3 separate regions of the Homo sapiens genome follow, and all the other regions are linked to region 1. The links are contacts of gene promoters, found by promoter capture Hi-C in blood cells and fetal thymus (Javierre and others, 2016). All regions are on one chromosome and are shown on one strand. The core of a region is centred on a gene start or on the middle of the fragment in contact, and the rest is flanking DNA. Distances in the headings are between cores, read along the strand shown. Region 1 holds the start of FXYD1 (FXYD domain containing ion transport regulator 1). Region 2 holds the start of LINC01801 (long intergenic non-protein coding RNA 1801). Region 3 holds the start of LOC101927522 (a long non-coding RNA gene).

Region 1 (4,095 bases), core at 662-3,161:
TTAGCCAGGCATGGTGTCGCACGCCCATAGTCCCAGCTACTCAGGAAGCTGAGGTGGGAGAATCACTTGAGCCCATGAGGTTGAGGCTACAGTGAGCTATGATTGTGCCATTGCACTTCAGCCTGGGTGACAGAGCAAGACCCGGTCTCAAACAAACAAACAAAAAATGAAGTTAATCATAAGACAATGTCAAGTTCAGAGACCTCTGAGCCCTGTCCAGGATTATACACGTGATCTTAGTGATTTTTCCATTTTGGAGCATGTGAAAATGAGGCACAGAGCTGCTCAAGTTCACACAACCAGGAGTGCAGTGCCTGGGCCATTCCAGGTTTCCCTGTCACCAGGACCTGTAAACCTGGCCTGCCCATGGGGACGCCAGGTGTGTTGTCCCCGACAAGAGCTCAGGGGAAGGAAAGTGTGGGGTTAAATACATATCTGTGGTTTTGGAATGTGTGAACATGCAAGTGTGTCAGCCTGCGCATCTGTCACCGTGGCCAACCATGTGCCTGTTTGCTCAAGCATAGGGTGTGAACCAGTGTGTGTGTTTCTGCTTTTGTGGGTATGTGTGAGAGCGGCGGGTTGTCCTTGATGGTGTTTCTGCTTGTGTATCTGTGCCCATGGAAATCTGTCTGTGTGTACACAAGCTTGTTGGCCTTCCTATCTTTGGGACCATGTAGGAGTGCTGGCTGCATGTCTGTACCTTTGGGGTTTTTTTGTTTTGTTTTTGTTTTTGAGACAGAGTCTCGCTCTGTTGCCCAGGCTAGAGTGCAGTGGCATGATCTCAGCTCACTGCAAGCTCTGCCTCCCGGGCTCAAGTGACTCTCCTGCCTCAGCCTCCGGAGTAGCCGTGATTACAGGCGCACGCCACCACACCCAGCTAATTTTTGTATATTTTTTTAGTAGAGACGAGCTCTCGTCGGGTTGGCCAGGCTGGTGTTGAACTCCTGGCCTCAAGTGATCCTCCCGCCTTGGCCTCCCAAAGTGCTGGGAGTACAGGTGTGAGCCACCGTACCTGGCCATGTTTGGCCATGCATCTTAGAATGCATTTATGTGCGGTGTGCACATACTTGTGTGTTTCTGTATGGCCATTTGTGGGTGGGTCTTCACATAAACATGCATTTTTGTGGCCAGTTTGTGAGTGTAGATGGTGATGTGGCTATGTCTTTGACTGTATCTCTGTGTGGCCATCCATCTACATGAGCGTGCGTGGGTCTGTGTAGACATAAATGTGCTTGTTCTGGTATTTTGTGACTGGCATAAAAGGTGTTGGCTGTGTGTCCGGGTCTTTGGGTTTCTCTATCAGTGTGTCATTCTGTGTGTGTCTGCTTCTATGGATGTACATACATACATGGTTTTGTCTGGTTTTGTACCTGTATATCTGGGTCTTTGGGATTGTGTGTGGGTGTGTGTGTGTGGTGCATTTCTGGGGATCTCACCACAGCAGATAGCGCACATGCGCGCGCACACACACACACACACACACACCTCCCTCCCGTCCTCTAAAACAGCCCTGTTAAGGACCTCACGGAGCACTGGGATCGGGGGTCAGTGGGCTCCTGGGCAGTCAGGCTGGGTGACCTTCGGCCCTGGCTGGACCCAGTTCCCAGGGGGCAGCCGCCTCAGCCCAAAAGCTCTTGGAGGCGTGTGTGTTTGTGTGTGTGTGTGTTCACAACCCTGTCCTCCACAATCCTCCTAGCCTCTCCAGCCTGCCTGCTGGCTGCCTGCTGCTGCTCTCTCTGAACTGAGAGAGTTAACCAAGCGGGCCAGGGCAGTCTGGGCTGGGGGCCGCCCCCTGGCCCCCCTCCAGCCCCAGCTCCAGTTTCAGCTGCTGGTTGGGGAGGGCATGGGTGGGGTGGGGCTGGGAGGGGAGGCTGCTGGGGGCGGCGCGTCCAGCTCTGGGCCAGGGGGTCCAAAGTGCTCAGCCCCCGGGGCACAGCAGGACGTTTGGGGGCCTTCTTTCAGCAGGGGACAGCCCGATTGGGGTGAGCGTCCCCCACTCCTTCCCTCCAGGCCTCACCCCTGGTCTGGCTGGGCCGCCTATTTTGGGAGCAGGAGTGGCCAGCCCGAGGCTTCCCAGGCAGGCCAACCCAAGAGGGAGGGAGTGTGGTTGAGGCAGTGGGTTCTGCAGGGTGGGATGTGGGTGACTCCTCCCTGCCCTGCTGGTGCGTGTGCACCCTGGCAGGGTGTGGAGTTGGGACACACACGTGTGTAGGGCTGGTTGCGTCACTGCGTGGGGGCACCGGAGGCCCAGAGGAGGAGTATTGGATGCCTGACGGTGTTTACACCCCACGTCCTGCTCCAACCAGCAGTTTGGGGAGAGGTTGTTGTTCATGTCCATTCCGGCCCCACTGTGTGTGTGTGTGTGTGTGTGTGTGTGTGTGTGTGTGTGTATCCCTGCCCCAGCATGTGTTTTCTATCTCTAAGGCCCACTGGGCTGGGCCTCATGTCACTTGCCTGACATCCGATTGTGAAAGATGTCACCCAGAGGCGGGCAGAGGGGCTGTCTTTTCCTTTTCTCGTTGCTGCCCAGGGAGGAGACGGGGTGACCTTTCCCACAGGGGCAGCCTGTGGCGATGTGGCAGCTGGGCCTCACCCCGGCAGGGCTGTGCGTGACCCCCTGAGTGGGGGAAGGCAGGCTGTTGCCATGGTGGCCTGAGCGAGCAGAATTCCTCCAGGGTGAAGTGGGAGATATTTATACCCGGGGTCAGGCCGCGAGCGGGCGGGCGGAGAGGGCAGGGAGCTGGGATTTCGCGGGGCACAGTGAGGCCGGGCATGTAGGCAGGTGGGACTTGGGCGTGCCCTGCTGTCTCCTGCTCTGTGTTTGTGTGAGGCAGCGCCTCCTCTGCCCTGCCAGGGTAGGTCTGGGAATCGGGGGCCTGCTGCGGGAGGTGGAGGCCCAAGGGAGGCCCCCCGGGGACTGTGTGTCTCACCCCCGTCCCTGCTACGTTGTGTTGTTGTGTGATCCCATCGTGGAGGTTGTTTTGGTGACACTGTGTCCCCACGAAGCTGGGGATACCCGTTTCTCTAGCTTGGAGCCACCAAGATAGAGGACAAACACTTCTGTGATTCAGTCCCCAGACTGTCTCTGACTTAATCCCTTGGGTTCAAGCCCTATGTGGGAGAGCAAGGGCACACACTGCCTAATCCGTGGTGTCCCCCCCAGGACAATGGCGTCTCTTGGCCACATCTTGGTTTTCTGTGTGGGTCTCCTCACCATGGCCAAGGCAGGTGAGTGCAGGGGAGGCTGCCCGCTACCCACCTCAGCCCCAGGGGTGGCGGTGGGGACCGAAGAACCAAGTTGGAGACCCCAACCTAGACTAAGTCGGCTGGGGTACCAAGAAGTTTGGGGGTCTCCACGTGGGGTCCAGTCACAGGCTGGTATTTGGGGGAGGGGAGAGGAAGCCCCAGATCAGGCAAAGATGGGGTGGGATGGGGCTGAATCCCCGATGGGATAACTGGGTCACAGACAGCCTGCCGTGAGTCAGGGAGCTGGGGCAGTTAGGTGCCACCTGCCCCATCTGGGACAGTGCAGAGGGGGCAGCTGGGACCCAGAGAGTGTGGGCAGCCTGCCCAGACACCCTCAGACTCTAAGCCCAGCAAGGCAGAGCCTCCAGTGGTCTCCTCATGCCCCTCCCTGCCAGGACCCCAGGAAGCATTCAACCCCTGATTTCTCTCTCTTTCCAGAAAGTCCAAAGGAACACGACCCGTTCACTTACGGTGAGCGGGGGGTCTAATTTTGAGTCCTGGGGGAGAGCCTGGCTTTGCTGGTCCTTTGATTCCCCCTCGCCCTCCCCCAGAGTCCCAGTATTGATATCTCTGTCATTCTCCTTCCCTCTATTTTGTCCTTCCTCTCTGATTCCACCTGTCTGCATCTTTTCCTGTCTGTGTCTATCTGTGTCACTGTCTATGTGATACCTCTCTGGTTCTCTTTCTCTTGCCTGCGTCTGTCTCAGCATCTCGTGGCCCATCCTCTGCTTCTTCCCGTCTTCTCTCCCCCCTGTCCTCCTCCTCCCTGTCCCCTCCCTCCCTTTCCTATACACCCCTTTCCTCTCCCTGGTACCCCACTTTCCTCCTCCCATATCTGCTCCCCCTTAA
Region 2 (4,095 bases), core at 455-2,954, 310 kb before region 1:
ATAGAATACTTAGAAATAAATTAGCAAAAGCTGTGGAAGATCTATGCACAGACAACTGCAAAACAGTTGCAAATTTTCTCTTAAAAAGCCAGATAGTATGAGGTTGGTACAAAAGTAATTGCGGTTTGAAAGTAATGGCAAAAACCACAATTACTTTTGCACCAGCCTAATAAGTAGCATAGCCTTTGTGGGTCACGTTGTCTGTGACACAGACTCTTTGTGTTTCTGTGTATTCTGCTGCAACTCTTTAAAATTGTTAATAGGATCCTTCACTCACTGGCCTTACATGTAGGCTACAGGCTAAATTTGTTGGCCCATAGGCTGCAGTGCTGACCCTTGCTGCGAAATATTTCTAGGAGAAAATACTCAAGACCTAAATCTATGGAGATATATATCATCCCTGTGGCCTGGAAAAGTTAATATTGGCAAGTTGTCCATCTTGGCCAGGACCCTGAAAGATAGTCTATGTTATTGTAAGAAAGATTGGTGTCCTTGGGGGCATGGGCTTTTAAGCCAGGGTGGAATCTGCAGAAGTCTGAGGTGCCATTTCCTGTCCCTATACCTGGGAGAAAATAGCTCTCAGACAGCTGTGTGGCTTTCTGCAAAGCTCAATTAGAAGAGAAATTATCAGGCGTGGTGGCGCATGCCTGCAGTCTCAGCTACTTGGGAAGCTGAGGTGGGAGGATCTCTTGAGCCCAGGAGTTCGAGGTTGCAGTGAGCTGTGACTCCAGCCTGTGTGACAGAGTGATACGCTGTCTGGAGAAATTCATCATGGAGATATGCTGATAATTGGTGGTCCCTGCCTACATCCTCCCAGGAGACTGAGCCAGACCCGGTGTGGCCAATGGTCCACTTATAAATTGAACCATGTTAGACCTCCTAACAGTGCAAGTACTCATTACAGCTCTGACATGGTGCTAAGCACCCCAAGTATTATAAACAAGTGTAATCCATTATGCACACACGGTGAGGCTACACCAAAGTCTGGTGGTTAAATGCATGATCTGTGGAATCAGACAGCATGGGTTCAAACCCTGGCTGGGGTGAGATGGGGAACTTTCTAAGGCTTAAATGCTGTTTTACCAAATATTTTAAAAGAAGTGAAAATACACTGCCTGTTAGAAAGGGAAGTTTTGGGGTGAAGCATGTGGGCAGTTTAGAATACCTGGTGTCCACCTCAGAAACCATCACAGCCCAGATGTTATAGGTTCAGGCCTTTCCAGGGCGGGCACATAGAATGTCCTCGCCTCCAAGGTTTGGAGAGCTGCGCTATAAAGGTTCTTGCAGGCGGTGTCCTGAGCCCAGAGCTGCCTGCAGGCGGGCAGGAGTTGTGGGGGTGTTGGCATGATCTGGTGTCCTCTGTGGCGGCTGCCTGAAAAGAAGAGGCCGAGGGTTCTTTGTCCTATGTCTCTCCGAATCTTAATACCTGCCCTGCAGCAGACTCCCTGGCTGCCAGGGCACACCGGTCACCCCGGTAGACGGTGCCGCCCCGCCCTCGCCAACCCCTTATCCCAACTCCCATTTCCAGCCTTCCAGGAAGCCCGATCCCCACCCCCGCACCATGTGAGCTGCTCCTCTACTCCGCGTAGGGGAGGCTCTGCCTCCGGTGACCCCGAGGGAAAGAGCTAGAGCACCCACAGGTGCTGACTGCTGCGGCGCTGAGGACGCTGCACACCCGTTCACCGGCTGACCCAGTGCTGCTGACAACCAGCGTCCGCGGCCCCCAACCGTCGAACAGAGCGCGTGGGACCATCTGGTGCCAAACGCCTGCAACGGAGTGCAGAAGGTCACGAGGCGCTAGAGACCGGTTGGGGGCAGGCGGTTGGGCCTTGACGCTCTTTGCTGGGCGTCGTTTTTTCTTCTCGCCCCCTTCGCTCCTGTGCGCTTAGTGCACAAGCCCTGGGCTCACACACCCTTTCTCTGTCACGTGTTCCAACAGCATCTCACCTGCATCGGGCTGAACAGGAGACCTCAATTTTCTCCTCTACTCCAAGGATTCGCCGGCTCACAATTGCTCTTCATATCTTCAGCAAGCTTTGTCTGTGCCCTGCCCCTCTGTCCCCCATTGCCTACCATACCCGCTCCCACCAAGCCTGCATCACCTCGCTGTCTCTGTGCCTCTCCCCGGCCCCCTTCCAGGCCTTTCTCCCACAATTTCTGGTCTTTGCTCCTGGGTGTTCCGTCGACCCTAAGAGGCGGTGTCTGATCTGGCAGGCTCAATGCCTTTCTCTGGCGCTGTCTGCACCTCCAATATATTCAGTGACTCAGGAAGGATCCATCCTGCAGGGCCCAGATAGACTCTCCTGTTTGCCACCTGAGCAGAAAGGCACCTCTGTGAGGTCTTTGCCACCCAGTCACCCTACCAGACCCAATCAGCACGTGGGAGACGTGGATGACAGGAGGACAGAGATGGAGAGGGACCAAAAGACTACATGGGGCCTTGAAGGATGTCATAAGAACGTTGCCTTTTACTGAGAGATGGGAACCATGGAGGGTTTCAAACTGCTGAGACTGGCATGATATGACTTAGGGCTTTTTTGTTTGTTTGTTTGTTTGTTTTTTCTTTTTTGTGACGGAGTCTCAGAGTCTTCCTCTGTCATCCAGGCTGGAGTGCAGTGGTGTGATCTTGGTTCACTAGAACCTCTGTCTCCCGGGTTCAAGACATTCTCCTGCCTCAGCCTCCCGAGTAGCTGGGATTACAGGCACCCACCACCACGCCCGGCTAATTTTTGTCTTTTTAGATGTTTTATCTCAGAGAAAGAGCTTCCATGTTCTCTAACTCTTGTAAACAGGTATTCTTCAAGAAACTTTACAATATAACATTCATACACAGAAGTGTACAAATCATCTGTCTATTCCTCAATACATTTTTGCAGAATGAACAAACCTATGTAATCTAGATCAAGAAGCAAAACACAGGCACCTCAGAATCAACCTCATGCTCATTCCTAGTCACTATGCCCCTCCCAAATTTTTAACATTATAGATTAGTTTTGCCTATTTAAAAACTTTATATAAATGGAACCCTACCATGTGTCCTGTTTGTGGCTGTGTCTTTTCATTCAACACTTCATAAAATTCATCCATGTTGTTGCTTTTAGCAGCACTTTATTCTTTTATATTGCTGTGTGATGTTCCATTGAACAAATATAATTTACCCATTCTATTATTGATGGATGTTTGGCTATTAGAAATAATAATGCTACTGTGGCTAGGTGTAGTGGCTCATGCCTGTAATCCTAGCAGTTTGGGAGACTGAGGAGGGAGGATTGCTTGAGACCAAGAGTTCAAGACCAACCTGGCCAACATAGTGAGACCCCCATCTCTCTTTAAAAAAAAAAAAGAAAGAAATAATGCTGCTGTGAACATTCATGTGTATGTTTTCGACTACTTCTGAGGTAGGACGCAGGACTCGACTCCAGAGCCGGGGCTTGGACACTGGAGCAAATTGAGGACTAGCTAAAACAGGGTCAGGGTGGAAGCAGCTTTCCATCAGACACACCCACCAGTGTGCTATGTCAGTTTACATTTGTCATGGCAACATGCAGGAATTACTGCTCCTTTCCATGGCAATGACCCAATGACCCAGAAGTTACTACCCTTTTCCTAGAAATTTCAGCATAAACCACCCCTTAATCTGCATGCAATTAAAAGTAGATGTAAATATGACTGCAGAACTGCCCTGAGCTGCTGCTCTCTGCGCCCTGCCGATAGAGTAACCGTGCTCTGCAGGAGCAGTCACAGAGCTGTAACACTGCCTCTTCAATAGAGCTGTCTTCTTCCACCACCAGCTCACCCTTGAATCCTTTGCTGGGTGAAGCAAAGAACCCTCCCAAGCTAAGCCCCAATTTGGGCTTGCCTGCCCAGCATCACTTCCAATATCATGGAAATTTTCAGTGATGCCTACTATGAGGTTTATTGCTTAACTTTTCACATTTAGCTCTGGAATTCTCCTGTCGATTTGCATGTCTTTTGTAGATTTATTTCATGTTTATTGATGCTACTATAAATCCTCTGAAGGGATTTACCTTTGGATGTAGAAGGCAGCTAGGATGGGAAAGCACACTTTATTCTGAGATTAATGTAAGTCAGAGC
Region 3 (4,095 bases), core at 412-2,911, 290 kb after region 1:
ATGTTACCCAGGCTGGTCTTGAACTCCTGAGCTCAAGCAATCCACCTGCCTTGGTCTCCCACCAAGTGCTGGGATCATAGGCATGAGCCAACACACCCAGCCACAATGCCTGTCTTGTGATGCTCTATCCCCAACCATCCATGGAGAGATGAAAATGCATGATCTGGTTGTTACCTTGCACTCAGCTGCCTAATCCAAGAGACATGCAGGTGACTTTGAGAAGGCTGGGGCTGTCCTGGGCCCACAGAATTCAGACAGAAGACACTGGGGAAAGGAGAGGAGGTGGGACAGGGACCAGACACAGAGCACTGGAAAGGAGAGGATGTGCAGGAGCAAGAGCTGAGCCGGATTTTCCAGACGGCGGCAGACTCTGGGGGGCTGCCTGGACTTGGGGCATTTTTTCTGGGCTGGCCCTGGACTTAGAGAATATTTTTGTGATTTAGCGGCCCCAATTTTTGTGAAATGTCCTCTGCTGACTGAGAGATTAACCTGCTTTGACTGGGCCATGCTAAAAAATGAACAGGAATTTGATATAGTCCAGTGTGGAGGTGGAGAGGGAGGGAGGTGAAGAAAGAACAGAAGGAAGGGGTAAGACACACTGAGGAGCAGATGGAAGTTACCTGAGGGGATCCTCCAAAGAAGAAAGGGTGGGCTATGCAAACAGTGGATGTAAAAAGACGCCTGGAAGAAGTTAGGACTTGGATTTCTAGGAGAGATTAATTCGACTTGTAGGAGCAGGGATTTGGGGAGAGGCAGAGGGCTCTGCTGCCTCTGAAAGAGCTCACCGAGTGCGCTCCCTCTCTCTGACTAAGGACCCCTGTGGATAAGAAAGCTCTCTGCCCTAGAGAAGAAGAGCAGTCAAGGTGCTTACAGGCTCTTTCCCGAAGACTGAAGACCTTTCCCAGGGTGGACTGTGGTGCCCTTCCCTGTGCAGGCACCCTGACCACTGTGTGTTCAGAGAAGAGGGATGTGGCACACACACCTGAGAAGCACTGGGACTCCTGCGAGACCAAGTGGGAGGTTGCCACTCCTGGGGACCATCTGATGGGAAGCAGCGGTGAAGAAAAGGGAATGGCGTCTGGATGTGGATGGAGGCAGGTGCTTCTACTGCTGCCCGGCCAGAGAGGAGCATCCCCAGAGGGTCCGTCCCTAGCCAGGCTGGAAGCTTGTCTCTGCGCATCTGGTCCCCTCTCGAAGCAGTTCTCAAAAGCCGTTGAGACACACTGCTGGGATGTGGCAACACACCAAGAGGCAAGAAATGTAAGTCCATGGTTCCTGGTAATACTGAAAAAACTAGGCTTTGGAAGTTTAAGTAAACAAAGAAATGAGAGGATATAAGGTAAGCTGTTACAACGTCACTGTCAGTTATGAGTATTCTGTTATGCTTTCTTTTGAGCCAGTCTCGCTCTTTTGCCCAGGCTAGAGTACAGTGGCATGATCTCGGCTCACTGCAACCTTTGCCTCCCGGGTTCAAGCGATTCTCCTGCCTCAGCCTCCTGAGTCACTGGGATTACACATGCCCGCCACCACACCCAGCTAAATTTTTTTGTATTTTAGTACAGACAGGGTTTCACCATGTTGCCCAGGGTGGTCTCAAACTCCTGAGCTCAGGCAATCCGCCCACCTCAGCCTCGCAAAGTGCTAGGATTACAGGTGTGGGCCATCATGCCTGGCCCCCATTACACTTTCTAGAGAGAGGAAGAAGTACTAACCTCACAGTGCAGACTGGAGACTGCACAGCACATGCGCAGATGGTCTTGACAGAGGATGCCTCCCTCTGTGCTGGGGAACTCATCCTTGCCCATTCAGTTTCCGTGGCTCAAGCAGGCTGATGTCAGCCCTTGGCGATGCTGTTGGCGTGTGTGACCCACAAATCATTCAGAGGCAGCAGAGCCAGCCTGGAGATCCGGGCTGTGACTTCAGGACAGGAGACCCTCTCTCTGCACAGGTTATTATCCTAAACTGCCAAAGGTCACTGCGTGAAGCAATTTTACTAAGAGCCACCAAACCCCTCTCTTCCCTCCAACCAAGTTCATTCACCCTTCTCAGAAGAGCCCAAGAGACCTCTGTGAGAGTAAGACAGGAGTTGGCGATGGTGCAATTTGCAGAACGCCATGTTTGTTAGCGCCTTGTCTTCATGTGGCCGGAGGGCACTCCTGAAGCTTCAAACTCCTGTAAAAACGCTTCCTGTCCAGGGAGGGTGGTATGGGAAGTCTGAGGTGGCTGGGAGAGGAACTGGCGAAGTAAGGAGTTGGAGCAGGAGTCAGAGAGACATGGGATGGGGAAACTCACAAGCAGACTCCACCCCAGTCAGGGAACCTCACTCACCGTTCCATTAAGGGCTGGAAAAGGAGGCACCGACAGGTGTCTCACAGAAGCGAATGGTAGCTGTTCAGGAGGCTGGACCCAGGAAAAAGGACATAAAATCGGGGAGGTGCCTCACCCTAATTTTTCTCAACTCCAGCAGAACCTTCTTAGAGAGCCTCACTCAATTCCACATTTCTCCTCCTCTCAGACAAGCCCGGCAGCTCCGTCCACGTCCTTTGCTGAATGGAGCCAGCGTGGTCACTTCTGCCCTATCGAGGAAGCTGAAGGCCCTGGCCCATCTCTGACAGCTCAGGGCACAGGAAAGCCTTGCCTCTGCCTAGTCTGCCCTCTGCTTCCCCACCAGCGTCATCTGTGGCCCACGGCTCTTGGCTGGACCTGCACTGAAGGACACAGCTGCTCCGAGCTACACAACAGGGTGGCTGTCCCTCCGCCCTCCATGTGTGGTGGCTGCTGCAGCAGGATACAGCCAGCCTCCTGGCTGCTATCCCACAGTGCTATGGTTGATTGCGTTCTTACACTGGAAGATAAACAGTGCTTGTGTCAAAGAAAATAGAAACAAGGCCGAGCATGGTGGCTCATGCCTGTAATCCCAGCACTTTGGGAGGCGGAGGTGGGCAGATCACTTGAGGTCAGGAGTTTGAGATCAGCCTGTCCAACATGGCGAAACCCCATCTCTACTAAAAATATAAAAATTAGCTGGGTGTGTTGGCATGCGCCTGTAACCCCAGCTACTCGGGAGGCAGAAGCAGAAGAATTGCTTGAAACCGGGAGGCAGAGGTTGTAGTGAGCCAAGATCGCACCACTGCACTCCAGCCTGGGAGTGCTCATATGAGCACTCACTCTACAGAGACCCTGTCTCACAAAAATAAATAAATAAATAAATAAATAAAATAAATAGATAAAAAAAAGAGGTAGAAGCTGGAAAAGTGGTTATCTTAGGAGTGGAAGGTTTGCTGACTGAGAGGGAATAAAAGGGCCTCTAGGGTGCTGAAAATGGCCTGCATCTCAACCTGGGTGGTCATACACAAATGTACAGATATGTTAACATGCATCCAGCTGTATCCCTAAGTTGAGCTCACCTTTTTGTATGTATGTTACCTGTTAATAACACAATTGATAAAAGCCCCCTCTAAAATCCCACATCTTCCTATGGCTACCATAGATATTTTAGGCTTATAATTGGTTTTGCTCCCCATATTTGCTATTCAAGATCTGTATAATTTTGGAACTCTCCCCTTTTTCCTTGCCAACAGGGTCCCAATTTTGTTAGGTTCGGGAAGTGCCCAATTAATACTCATTTGCCCAAACTCTCTTGCGGCTAGGAATTGCCATGAGATACAATGTCAGCCAGTTGGAAATAAGTACACATCTGCTGGGTAGGGCTTCCAGAAAAGCTATCATTTTCCTTTTTCCTTCTTTAGAGACAAGGTCTCGCTGTGTGGCCCAGGCTGGAGTACAGTGGTGCCATCACAGCTCACTGCAGCCTCCCATTCCCAGGCTCAAGCGATCCTCCCACCTCAGCCTCCCAAGTAGCTGGAACTATAAGAGTGCACCACCACACCCAACTAGATTTTTTTTTTATTTTTTGTAGAGATAGGGGGTCTCACTCTGTTGCCCAGGCAGGTCTCGAACCCTTGGCCTCAAGCGATCCTCTTGCCTCGGCCTCTCAAAGTGCTGGAATTACAGGCGTGAGCCACTGCATCTAGAAAAGTTGTCATTTTCCTGCTTGAAAAAGGGATAGATCCATCTCTCATACGTCTTTTGCTC

Evidence for each region. The method cuts DNA at HindIII sites, captures the fragments that hold promoters and counts their contacts. A CHiCAGO score of 5 or more calls a contact.
Region 2: a contact is called between the fragment with the promoter of LINC01801 here and the fragment with the promoter of FXYD1 in region 1, in 6 of 17 cell types (naive CD8 T cells, erythroblasts, non-activated CD4 T cells and 3 more). The highest score is 8.4, in naive CD8 T cells.
Region 3: a fragment that was not itself captured here is called in contact with the fragment with the promoter of FXYD1 in region 1 in 13 of 17 cell types (M0 macrophages, total B cells, monocytes and 10 more); the score reaches 13.6 in M0 macrophages.

Annotation. Positions count from the first base shown.
Region 1 is chr19:35,136,913-35,141,007 of GRCh38, forward strand. FXYD1 (FXYD domain containing ion transport regulator 1) reads left to right here and starts at 1,912. Exons shown (of 8, transcript NM_021902.4): 1 at 1,912-1,982; 2 at 3,164-3,228; 3 at 3,685-3,717. The coding sequence starts at 3,168. The HindIII fragment of the contact is 25,239 bases long and covers 643-4,095 here.
Region 2 is chr19:34,831,165-34,835,259 of GRCh38, forward strand. It overlaps LINC01801 (long intergenic non-protein coding RNA 1801), which reads right to left and starts at 1,705. Exons shown (of 6, transcript NR_033982.1): 1 at 1,561-1,705; 2 at 1,166-1,372. The HindIII fragment of the contact is 2,823 bases long and covers 1-2,032 here.
Region 3 is chr19:35,431,877-35,435,971 of GRCh38, forward strand. It overlaps LOC101927522 (a long non-coding RNA gene), which reads right to left and starts at 2,777. Exons shown (of 7, transcript NR_187751.1): 1 at 2,444-2,777; 2 at 1,713-1,962; 3 at 983-1,226. RefSeq lists an enhancer at 1,018-2,217. The HindIII fragment of the contact is 997 bases long and covers 1,164-2,160 here.